2 separate regions of the Homo sapiens genome follow, and region 1 is linked to region 2. Evidence: promoter capture Hi-C in 16 types of primary human blood cells and fetal thymus (Javierre and others, 2016). All regions are on one chromosome and are shown on one strand. Each heading gives the region's core, a stretch centred on a gene start or on the middle of the fragment in contact. The rest is flanking DNA. Distances are from core to core; before and after follow the strand shown. Region 1 holds the start of MZF1 (myeloid zinc finger 1). Region 2 holds the start of ZNF772 (zinc finger protein 772).

What was found. The method cuts DNA at HindIII sites, captures the fragments that hold promoters and counts their contacts. A CHiCAGO score of 5 or more calls a contact.
Region 1: a contact is called between the fragment with the promoter of MZF1 here and the fragment with the promoter of ZNF772 in region 2, in 1 of 17 cell types (naive B cells). The highest score is 5.0, in naive B cells.

What each region holds. Positions count from the first base shown.
Region 1 is chr19:58,568,859-58,574,831 of GRCh38, reverse strand. It overlaps MZF1 (myeloid zinc finger 1), which reads left to right and starts at 1,497. Exons shown (of 6, transcript NM_198055.2): 1 at 1,497-1,777; 2 at 3,403-3,838; 3 at 4,305-4,488; 4 at 5,246-5,316; 5 at 5,435-5,555. The coding sequence starts at 3,443. MZF1-AS1 (MZF1 antisense RNA 1) reads right to left here. Exons shown (of 6, transcript NR_027334.2): 2 at 5,837-5,919; 3 at 4,375-4,448; 4 at 2,877-2,974; 5 at 2,009-2,254; 6 at 35-1,915. RefSeq lists enhancers at 1,123-1,552, 1,613-1,702, 1,071-1,930, 1,931-2,792. The HindIII fragment of the contact is 12,442 bases long and covers 1-5,973 here.
Region 2 is chr19:57,474,156-57,479,923 of GRCh38, reverse strand. It overlaps ZNF772 (zinc finger protein 772), which reads left to right and starts at 2,358. Exons shown (of 4, transcript NM_001144068.2): 1 at 2,358-2,647; 2 at 3,252-3,290; 3 at 4,138-4,264; 4 at 5,503-5,768. The coding sequence starts at 2,615. RefSeq lists enhancers at 1,844-3,043, 2,634-3,157. The HindIII fragment of the contact is 1,804 bases long and covers 900-2,703 here.

The DNA.
Region 1 (5,973 bases), core at 248-2,747, 1.1 Mb before region 2:
ATAATTTCAAAACAGTTAAAAACATGACTCTCAGTGAGCATGTGTCAAAAGATTTATTTACCGTACTGAGGGAAGCAGCAAGATGATTCTAGGAAGACAGGAAAGGAAGAATAAACACTGGCCGGCCGCGGTGGCTCACACCTGTAATTCCAGCAATTTGGGAGGCCGAGGTGGGCGGATCACCAGAGGTCTGGAGGTCAAGACCAGTCTGGCCAACATGGTAAAACCCCATCTCTACTAAAAATACAAAAATCAGCCGGGTGTGGTGGAGCAGCCTGCAGTCCCAGCTACTCGGGAGGCTGAGGCAGGAGAATCGCTTGAACCTGGGAGACGGAGGTTGCAGTGAGCCGAGATCGTGCCACTGCACTCCAGTCTGGCAACAGCGAGACTCCGTCAAAAAAAAAAAAAAAAAAAAGAAAGAAAGAAAAAGAAAAACACTGAAATAAAAGCACAAAGTTGGATACAAAACTGCTTAGTGAGCTACAAAGCGATACACTGGACAGAAAGCATTTGCAACCTATCAACCTGTACAGGGTAGCATATAACTGGACAGCATCTGGACTCCTAAGTTTTCCTAACAGTTTTACCTCGGATTCTCCCTGTCTCTCTTCGTGCTGTCATCTTTCTCTAGGTCTTCGAAAACTGTCAATCCATCTTACTGTATCTCTAATTTCTGTCCCTTTTCTCCCTTCTTGTTTCTGTCCCTCTCCCTTCTTGTCTACCTCTTGAGTCTGGATATCTGCATTTCTTGTCTCTGTGAACCCATTCTGCGTTTCCTTCTTTGTGTCTCTTTCATCTGCATCCCTTTCTGATCTGCCTCTCTCTTGCTAACTGTTCTGACACCTGTTTGCCCGGCCCTGACCCTCTGATCCACTCAGCCCTCTTATAACTTGGACCCGTGTCTCTATGTTTGTTCACTTATTTTCACTGTCTCTCCTCGCGTCGAGTCTCCGGTCCTCCCAGTCTGTGAGTCTGTCTCTCTGTCTCTCTCTCTCTTCCTCCCGCCGGTCCTTCGTCTCTCTTTGCCCTTGAGTCTCTGGTCTCTCTCCGTCTCTCCTCGCTGTTTCTATCGATCGGCATCTCTCTGCCCCAGTACCCTTCCCCACCTCTTCATCCCACATGCCCCATTGCATTTTCAACGCCCGCCGCGTCTCCGGGTTACCCAGGCGATGTCGAGTCGTGTCCCCAGGTTACCATGGAGACGTTCAGGGCCCGCCCCTCGCCCATGATCACAGAGGAACGTCATCGCGCCGCGCGCGCACGTACACACGAAGGGCCTGCTGACTACATCTGCCGGAAAGCATCGGGCCAAGCCTTTCTCCATTTTGCGGTCTAGGAAGTAGCAGAGGCCCCTTCCTGTAGGGAGTTGCCATGGAGACGCGGTGGGGCACCGACGGAGTTCTAATGACGGCCGTGATTGGTGCAGGATCCTGCTAATCTCAGGAAGGCCCGTAGAGAAGTGAGGAAAACGTGGTGGGGGGCATGCGCGATCTGGTAGGCGGTGCTGCCGTCTGTTGTACCTGAGAGGCTTGCGCATGCCGACGCACGGATTCGAGGCGGGGAGCATGGGAAGAAGCGGCCAGGAGTATGACCTGATCATTGCGACCACCGCTAGGGGAAGGGAGGAGAGGGTGTAGAAACGGGGACGAGGGTGGGGGAAGGGCAAGGAGGCGCTCGAGCTGGTGCGCGGAGCATCCTGGGAGACGTAGTCCAGCGGGAGGGGGAAGTCGAAGACTGCGCGTGCTCAGGAGCGCGGAGCGGCCCGCTGAGCGCAGAGGTGAGGGCGGGGTCCTCTTAACCGGGAGGGCTATCGTGTGGACGGGGGCGGTGGCTGCAGACTCGGGGATTCCGGCTCCCCAGTGAGACCGGAAGCGCGGGGAACGAATCCGGGCAGTCCTTGCGGGAGCGCCCAGGGCTAGAGCGAGAGGCTTGTCAATCACTACTCGTTGCCACGACGACAGGCTTTGGGAGCCCCGCCCCCGGTTGCCTAGGCGTCGTCTGGACCTACCTTGGCACCCTGGAGCGGAAGTTGCCGCCTGGACTTCTGGGAAGTGTATTTCGGGACCCTCCGTAGGTACCTGCCATCTTGGCTATGACCCAAGTCTCTCCCAGGGTTTCAGGTTGACTTGGCACCTTGAAGAGTGGAGGCTTGGCCCCCAGGATGAGGCGGCCCTCGAAATCGATGCCACCCACGGGGGAATGATTCTGCGGTGCCATCCCCTTCATAAACGCAGATTCCTTCCTAAAGCCGCAGCTGCAGAAGGAACAGCGCGAGGAGGGAGGTCAGCCCCACTTGCAAATGGGGAAACAAGTTCTCGAAGGCACAGTGATCTGAAGATGGGCGGAATCAGAGTCTCGGGACTTCCTTGCAGGCTCCTGTTCCGGCAGTCTTGGAGCCTTTGCCGCCCCCCCACCCATTGCGAAGCTCCCCCATCCCCTTCCAACCCCAGCTAAATCAGGAAGCTGAGATGGGGCATTGCGTAGTGTGATGTTGGGCTTAGAAGATGGGGCTGAGTAGGGAGAGAGGGTGCTGCCTGGGAGCTGAGCCATACAAGTGACTGCACAGGTTGACATGGAGGATTAGGTGGAGTGAGGCTTCCAAGCAGGGAGGGGAATGATGGTGGGGCCCAAATGAGGAGCCACATCGAAGTAGATGAGAGAATAGAAGGTGAAGTAAGGGCTGGCGTTGGGTAGGGGGAGACGCCAGCAGTGATGCTGATGCCCAGGCTGTAGGTGTATAGGTGCCATCCACCTGGTAAAGAGAGAGCTGTAGCGCAGGAATGAGGTTGCACATGTAGAAGAAGGGAAGGATACAGGGGAGAGAAGTGTCTTCTAGTCCTAAAAAACAGCCTGTGGGCTGGCATGGTGGAACAAACCTGTAAGTCCCAGCACTTCGGGAGGTCAAGGTAAGAGGATCATCTGCTTGAGCCCAGGAGTTCAAGAACAGCCTAGGCAACATAGTAAGATCCCATCCCTACAGAAAAATTAAGAAATTAGCCGGATGTCGTGGCACACACCTGTTGTCTCAGCTACTTGGGAGGCCGATCTCTGGAGCCCGGGAGGTCAAGTCTGCAGTGACGCATGATCTCGCCACTGCACTTCAGCCTGGGCAACTGACTGACAGCATGTCTCAAAGAAAAGAAAAAAAAGCCTGTGTTTGGAGCAGGGAGACTGTCAGAGACTTTGCACAGGCCCAAGCGGAGAGAAGACCAGGGATACAGGTGGCTAAGGGAGGGCTTCCAGCTGCATAAGTCTGTGGGTTGTAGATGGCCTTTCTTTGCCTGTTTCCTCATCTGCCTTCCACATGGGGTAGGTCTGAGGATCAAACGGTACAGCATAGACTAGGCAGTGAAGCATTCACTGTACTCCTTTTGCAACAGCCTCATCCTATTTCTTCACCAGGGGCAGACACTGGCCTCAGATACCTGACCTGGTACCCTCTATGAGGCCTGCGGTGCTGGGCTCCCCAGACCGAGCACCCCCAGAAGATGAGGGGCCTGTCATGGTGAAGCTAGAGGACTCTGAGGAGGAGGGTGAGGCTGCCTTATGGGACCCAGGCCCTGAAGCTGCACGCCTGCGTTTCCGGTGCTTCCGCTATGAGGAGGCCACAGGGCCCCAAGAGGCCCTGGCCCAGCTCCGAGAGCTGTGTCGCCAGTGGCTGCGTCCAGAGGTACGCTCCAAGGAGCAGATGCTGGAGCTGTTGGTGCTGGAGCAGTTCCTGGGCGCACTGCCCCCTGAGATCCAGGCCCGTGTGCAGGGGCAGCGGCCAGGCAGCCCCGAGGAGGCTGCTGCCCTAGTAGATGGGCTGCGCCGGGAGCCGGGCGGACCCCGGAGATGGGTGAGTGAGTGTCCACGAGTGGGGTTCAGGACTGGAGCATCATCCAGCTCGGCCTCACCCTGGGCAGCACCACGCTTTGCCAGACACACGTTCTCCCTTGTGGTACAGAAGTGGCCACCTGCAACAGAGACCCTGTGCAAGGCTGCCCAGGGCAGAGGGATTCCAGGGCCAGACTCCCCAGCCCATTCCTGCATCACCTGCAGTCACGTGGACATAGGAGCTGCAGGCTAGGGGAATATGGGGAAGGTACTGGAAGGCCACGATGTCAGAGCAGGGGAGGGACTGCAGGTGGTCCCTTCATTCTTTGCTCAGGGCCTAGGGGAGGTAGGTCCTTGGAGGACCTAGTCAGTAGGTATTTACAAGGCAGGCCCCTGGGATCCTACAGTGGGATGGGCACCCACAAACCCCAGGTTGCGGCCAGCCTTACTCTCTGGTAGGACTTCTGATGGTGGGGGCACCTCCCCAGGTCACAGTCCAGGTGCAGGGCCAGGAGGTCCTATCAGAGAAGATGGAGCCCTCCAGTTTCCAGCCCCTACCTGAAACTGAGCCTCCAACTCCAGAGCCTGGGCCCAAGACACCTCCTAGGACTATGCAGGAATCACCACTGGGCCTGCAGGTGAAAGAGGAGTCAGAGGTTACAGAGGACTCAGGTGAGGGCATGCACGGTGGGCGCGCCTAAGGTCTGGTTGGGTGGGCCAGGGAACCTGGCCTGAGCAGTCAGTCTGAAGTCCACTGGGCCAGGTTTGTTATAAATGGAATGGTTTCCATCTGCCAGCAGCCCCCACATTCTACCCAGTCAGGTCTCCCCTCCACCGCAGCCAGTGCTGTCACTACCCCTCACACACCAAGCCTGACTGCCACAGCCCTGTACCCACGAACCCCATGGCATGGAGCAGGCTGTTGGGGTTTCCCAGTACAGATGGCATGTGGTGTTCAGTCCCCAAGGAGATGCGTTAGGCAATATGTGCTTGTCACTGGGGAACAGACAGCAGGCAGAGGTATAATTAGGAGCTGCTGAGGGAGGACCTCGTAGTGTTAGGGGTATGACCCCTTTCACCTCCCAGGCAGGGCACCTGAACTAGCTGCTCACACCCTGCCATTCCTATGTGGACCCTTGTACAATACCTCTGACCCCCGCTGACCACCTTGCCCCATGGTTCACATACGGCTACAGGGGCACAAACCTCAGCCCATCTCATCCCACTGCAGCTCAACCCCTGGCCTTCCAGGGTACTCTGCTTCACCCAGCCCCTGAGCTGGGCCCTCAGCTACCCTGCACTGCCCTCCCCAACCCAAGCCCACAACCAAGAATCCCACCTCTCTGCATCCCAGCACCTGGCACACCACTAAGAAGGGCAGTGGGGTGGAAACTCACTCAGGCTGCCTGATACCAGTTTTCCTCTCTAGATTTCCTGGAGTCTGGGCCTCTAGCTGCCACCCAGGAGTCTGTACCCACCCTCCTGCCTGAGGAGGCCCAGGTAAGTCCTGCCCAGGTCCATGTTCTCCTCCTTTCCCTGGAAGTTGCTGGGTGGGGTCAGGTAGGTCCCTCCCTGAGCCCAGCCAGGCACAGAGGAGCAGTGACCACTGTGATTTCAGAGATGTGGGACCGTGCTGGACCAGATCTTTCCCCACAGCAAGACTGGGCCTGAGGGTCCCTCATGGAGGGAGCACCCCAGGGCCCTGTGGCATGAGGAAGCTGGGGGCATCTTCTCCCCAGGTAAGTGAGATGGGGTGTGGTGGGACTAGGCCTTCCGCATGGACAGCACCATCTCTGCCGACCCCACTCCTGGCCCTACGCAGGCAGCCCTCTTACTCCAGCATCCCCAAGTTCCCCCATTCCCTAGATCATCCCCTATAAGGTTCAACCTCCTCTAGCATCTTCTGCCCTCAAAAAAAGCCACCCACCACTACCACTGATCCCACAGCCCCTCTACTTTCTAGAAACTCCCCACCCTAGTAAAACCTTTTGCAAGCAGGGCGAGTATTCCCCGTACCCACATTCTCTCCCAGTCCTGGTATCCTGGATGGCCTCCTGGGCTTGCATCCTGCTGGTCAGGCATCAGGACAGGTAGGGCTGGGACCTGACAAGGACAGCAGGTTAGTAGACAGAGCAGGTGGGCAGGAGGGACCTTGAC
Region 2 (5,768 bases), core at 1,109-3,608:
GTCATGGCTCCTTGGACTCCATTGCCAACTATGCCACTTAACAGCTACAGCTGAAAATAAATTATAGACCCAAGAAACCTCAGTTTCCTCATATTAATTTAGGTGACAAATCCACTTTACAGGGCAAAAGTGCGTAGTGTTTATAAAAGGTCTGATAGAATGTCTAGGATATGGACATTATTAAATGTAAATTATTGTCATCCTTATCCCACCCCTGTATGAATAACCAGAAGATGCTGATGATATGCAGTTCCCTGATGACATCTCAGCCCAGTTGGGTGAGTCAAGGGCCTGGTAACCTTCAAGCGTAGGTCTTGGTTTCTCTAAAGCAGATTTTGGACGTTTCTAACTACAACATGATTCTTTTCTTACTGACAGAGTAGGGAGTCTGGGAATGTTAGTTGTGCTTTCAATCACAATTCAAATTCTGTGGAAATTCACTGAAGAAAAGAGAATACCTCGTGAAGCGTGTTTTGGTCCATCAAAAATTACTAACTGCTTATTTGAGTATTTATTGCATAGTCATTTAGGTTTTGCAAAAGTTGTCAAAACCAAAATGAGTAACTTGTGTAAAATAAATAAATAAGTAAATAAATAAATAAAGCCAGGAGGCTGAGAAAAGAGGGCACTCAAACACACATGCTTAAGATAAGAGCTATTACTGTCTCTGAGGGCTCTTAATGCACATATTCCCGTTAAAAGAAGTTTTGACAAGAACTTCTCAAACCGCAGCTTGCTACAGGAGTTACAAGGACAGCTCTAGATGTAGTAGAACACTTGCCTGACAGATTGTCTCCACTAATGAACTGGTGTTAACCTCTGCCATAAACATCTGTGACCAATGTTCTTTTTATCTCAAAACAAATTATATATACTTTTCCCTTTTGCCTTTGAAAGCTTCTCCTTGTTTCAAGCTCTCTGGATATGCCTATAGTCCCTATAGCCTGCATGTCCTGGATTTGCAAATCCCCTGTGCATTCCTGAATGAACTCAACATCTTTGAAGAATCTCTGTTATTTAGGTTGACAGTTTAAATATATCCTACATTGTGCTTTTCTTTGCCTCACTTCTTCCACTTATTTTACTATTATTTTACCTTTCTATTGATTATTTATTTATATTCCAAACATTTCCTCTTCTAGTTTGAAAAGTATATACGCTGACTGTATTTATTATATTTAGGCTAAAAATTACAAACGTTTAACACATTAGCGTGCCATACAGGATTGTAATACATTTGCTTTCCACTTGGAAATATAAAAAATTTAAAACTTTGAGCAACTAGCCTCCTTTCAATTTATATGTAGTTGAGGTTACGCACGGGAATTCCATCATTCTAACTCAATAAGTATATCTACTTATGTTTTACACTGTAATATGCTGTTATTTTAATCAAAAGATGCACTTCTTTTCATCTTCATTTCTTCTCTCATTGCAGACTTTTCACCTGAGATCAACTTTCTTTGGCCTTGAGTATTATTTTAAACATTATTTTTTGTGTAAATGTATTTCCATTACATTTATCATTTTTGGTTTCAAATAGTTTTATATCACACTTCCATAAAAGACATTTTGTTGTGTATAGACATCTAGTTTGGTGGTTATTTCTTCTTTACAGAAAGTGTTCATGTTGCCCTTTTCATTGCCATATGACATTTGATGAATTCTGTCTTTTCAGACACTTGTAAAACACTTAAAATATTGAATACATCTCTGTATATGGAGTATGAAATACTATCTTGAACAAGAGTATTACTTGTTGGGTTTGACACAATCACTGCTGTATAAGCAGGATAAATATTTTCTGAGGTAACAGACAGAAGGGTTATTCACTTACTTCAAGGCCACCAAACATCCCCACTCCACGTTCCACATCATGGTGTCTGGAGTCTTTTCTTTCTTGTGCCTGACAGAAAATGCTGAGGCTCGCCAAACTAACTCTGGAGCATCAGGCTACACGCATTTGAAAACAATATTTGTTAACTTCCAGCCATAGAAATCTGAGTGACGTCAGTGTATGGTGTGTCCATTTTATTTTTTGATGAGCATTCTCTGCGTAAGGAAGGCTGAAATCATGTCTCTAAACATTCCTTTGATGTCAAACACGACGTTCACCAGAAATACAGATATGGCTCCTTCAAGAGGAAGCTAAGCTCCGTCTGGGCCTTGGAGACGAGGGACACCATTTCCACGCGCCCCTGGCGGTCTTCTCTGGGCTTTTAACCTGGAGGTGAAGCGAGACGCCGCTTACTAGTGTTGGTGCCGTGGGAACTACATTACCCAGGAAACTTGGCGGCTCTGGGCCAATGAAAACCCAGGAAATAGGCGTTTCCGTTGGTCCTCACCAACGTCAGGGCGGGACTTCCTCTACCATCCTCGGGTGGACATTTTGTTTGCTTTTCCATTAATCCACTGGTTTAGTTTCCAGAACGCAATGTCAGACCTGAGGTGACAGAAAAGGGAAAACGTGAGAGAGTGTCTTCTTCCCTGAAGAGAGGTGGGCCTGAGGCTTGACAGTGGCGCTGCCTGAGTGACCTAGCCGCTGGGCTGGGCCCTGGACAGCTGATCCCAGGTTCCTGCACTTGTCGCCACCCTTCCGTAGTCCACAGGCCTGATGGCGGCGGCTGAGCCGATGGGCCCGGCACAGGTGGGTGCTGCGTCTGCGAGTCTGCGCGCTGACCCCCATCTCTGAATCCCAAAGCTTCGAATGAACGATTCCTCGGGTTACTGCAGCTCAGGCCCCTGTATCTAGAACAGTGGGGGCGCTCGTGTTTGGGACCCATTTTGACAGCACGAGTTGAAGGACGTTCCAGGCAGAGAGACCAGTGTATGCAAAGGCTCAGAGATGGTTCACAGCTGGAGCATTTGGGAAAACTGGGCCTTTAGTGTCTGAAAGGATCAGAGCGCTTTATAAGTGATTGCACCTGGAATATCATCCTGAGCAGCTGGGTCTCTATTCTGAGGGTGATGGGAGCCATGGAAGGTTCTGAACAGAGGAGAGCCAGAATCCGAGGGTTTAAAAAGTATTCCATAGACTGCTCATGGAGGGCAGACTCTTGTTGGCCATGGGGGCGGATAATGAGCACTGTTCCGAGCTAACACAGTTAAGAGGTATCCTTGAAGATGGAAGCACAGAGGGTAGACATTCAGCTCCCAGGCACATTGTAACTGGGTAGGAATATGGGATGGGGTTGAGCCTTTGGGGTTCCTTCAAGATTGCTTGACTCGCATAGTCTCCCTCTTCCCCACAGGTTCCCATGAACTCAGAAGTAATTGTGGACCCTATACAGGTGAGGGGAGAATGTCCATGCTCTCACCGATCCCACCCCCACCCAATACGCTCTCCAGCATTGTGGTGTTATATAGAACACTCTCCTGCTACTCTCCGATCTCTTGGGTCTGAGGACTCTGGAGAAGCCCCAAGCCCAGGGTCCTGACTCCGGGCCAGGGGTTTTATGGAGGGGTTTCCATTTCTGCCAACCATTGGAATAAGGTTGGAAGGTTGTTCCAGGCACAGGAACCAGCCTGTGCAAAATACTTAGAGGTGAGACTGAGAAGGGAGTTTTCAAGAAATTGCAGGTCTCTGTCATGTCTGGTGGGAACCAAGAGCAAGGGGGCGGGAATCATCCTGAAATGGCTTAAAGATGATTATGTAGATTGGGAGTTAAAAGAGAATATTCATTTCACAGTGGTAGTGCATTTAGTGAGCCAGGAAAGTGATGGTGGAGAGCCAGAGTTGTGAGATAACTGTGATCCAAAGAGTGATGTACATATGGAAAGAAGTGTAGACTGATGACGTCTGGGCTTAAAGGAGAAAGGCAAGCCCATCTTTGGTTGTCTGGTAAGCATGATGTTAGTGACCCCAGAGGAATTTGCTTACAGAAGGGTGAGGCCCTGTATGCTAAGCACAGAGCTTAGAGGGTGACAACTTCTTCACCTGCCTGTGGTTGCTATGGGTAGACACAGTGATCCATTGGGACCATGAGGCGAGAGAAGACACCAATGACATCTGGTCCTGATATTTCCTGAGTTGAGGAGTTAGGTAGGAGGGTGTACAGGAGGGAGATGTGTGGGGGCACGGATGGGGGTTCTTGGGAGAGATGCTGCTCATGGACTTGGCTCTCCTGATTGTGGCAGGGGCAGGTGAACTTTGAGGACGTGTTCGTGTACTTCTCCCAGGAGGAGTGGGTGCTCCTTGATGAGGCTCAGAGGCTCCTGTACCGTGATGTGATGCTGGAGAACTTTGCACTTATGGCCTCTCTGGGTAAGGCCGTCACATCCACCCCAGTGACTTGGACTGGGTCCTGCCCTTCCCCTTTTTTTCAGGGCATCTTTGTCCTTCCTACATCAGAGCCGTGGACACTGTCTCATTTCTTAGTGCCTGGAGTAGGTTCTGTGAGTGCTGGGCTTGGGCTGTTTGCACTCCTACTTTCTCCTTTTGAGCATTCCCAGCGCTTGCTGTCTCAGAGCCTTGCAGGCATGGATTCAGGAGTTATGCATTGTATTGTCAGCCCAGTGGGTCATATCCATCTTGTCCTTTCCCTGTCTGAATTCCTCTGTCTGTATCCATGACACCTCTGTGCCTGGGATTCTGCGCTCTTCCTTTAGCTGACATTTCCTGTGGCCTGCCTATGTCAGGAATTGTAGGGACCATTATGGTCGCTACTTGCTAGGACCACTGCACTATTCCTGCAAGACCTTACTCTGAGATTATTTTAATAATATTTAGTTTTCTATATGGGTTACCCAGACCAGTGCTGTTCTATCTTTCCCTTAGGACATACATCTTTCATGTCCCACATAGTTGCCTCACTGGTGATGGGTAGTGAGCCCTGGGTACCTGACTGGGTGGACATGACCCTAGCTGTTGCCACAGAGACTCCAGGTGGGAGTGACCCTGGTGAGTAGGAGCTGGGGAAAGGTGTGATGTCAGGGCTGGGTTCATATCATTCCATAGCCTCTTTGTGCCTACAGTTGTATTAGTGCTAAGGCCACTGGCCTTTCATACTCTGGCCTTTGGCCTCTGGATGTTCCATACCTCTGCCTTCATGTCTCACCTGTTCCTCTCCATGGCTTGTTCTACAGTGCCTTCCAGCATTGGCCTGTACTTAGTGTTTCATGAGATGTGTAGCCCAAATAGTCCTTAAACACCAACTACTGAGTAGCAATTTGATTTTCTTTGGTATGGACCATAACCTTCTGCACAACTCTCACCTGTCCCCAGCAGCCAAGAAAATCTGATTGTGAATGACTTTGAGACCTGCCTCTTTTTTGTGCTGTACCCCACATCTTTGTCCTCTCCCAGTTGAGGCCTTCTCCATTCTATGACATTTAGATGCCAACTACCGTATAGTACACATTTGCTGAACTTGAGTTTGGACCCTTGTCCTAACAACAGTCCTATGACCTTGGTCTTAGTTGTGTTAGACACATATTTGTAGTGAGGCTTCCCCTCTTCCACCTGTGTCAATTTGTACTTCACCAGCATTTCTCTGCTTTCAGGTTGTTGGCATGGAATGGAGGATGAAGAGATACCTTTTGAGCAGAGCTTTTCTATAGGAATGTCACAGATCAGGATTCCCAAGGGAGGTCCTTCTACTCAGAAGGCTTACCCCTGTGGGACATGTGGCCTGGTCTTAAAAGACATTTTGCACTTGGCTGAGCACCAGGAAACACACCCAGGGCAGAAACCATACATGTGTGTGCTGTGTGGGAAACAGTTCTGCTTCAGTGCAAACCTTCACCAGCACCAGAAGCAGCACAGTGGA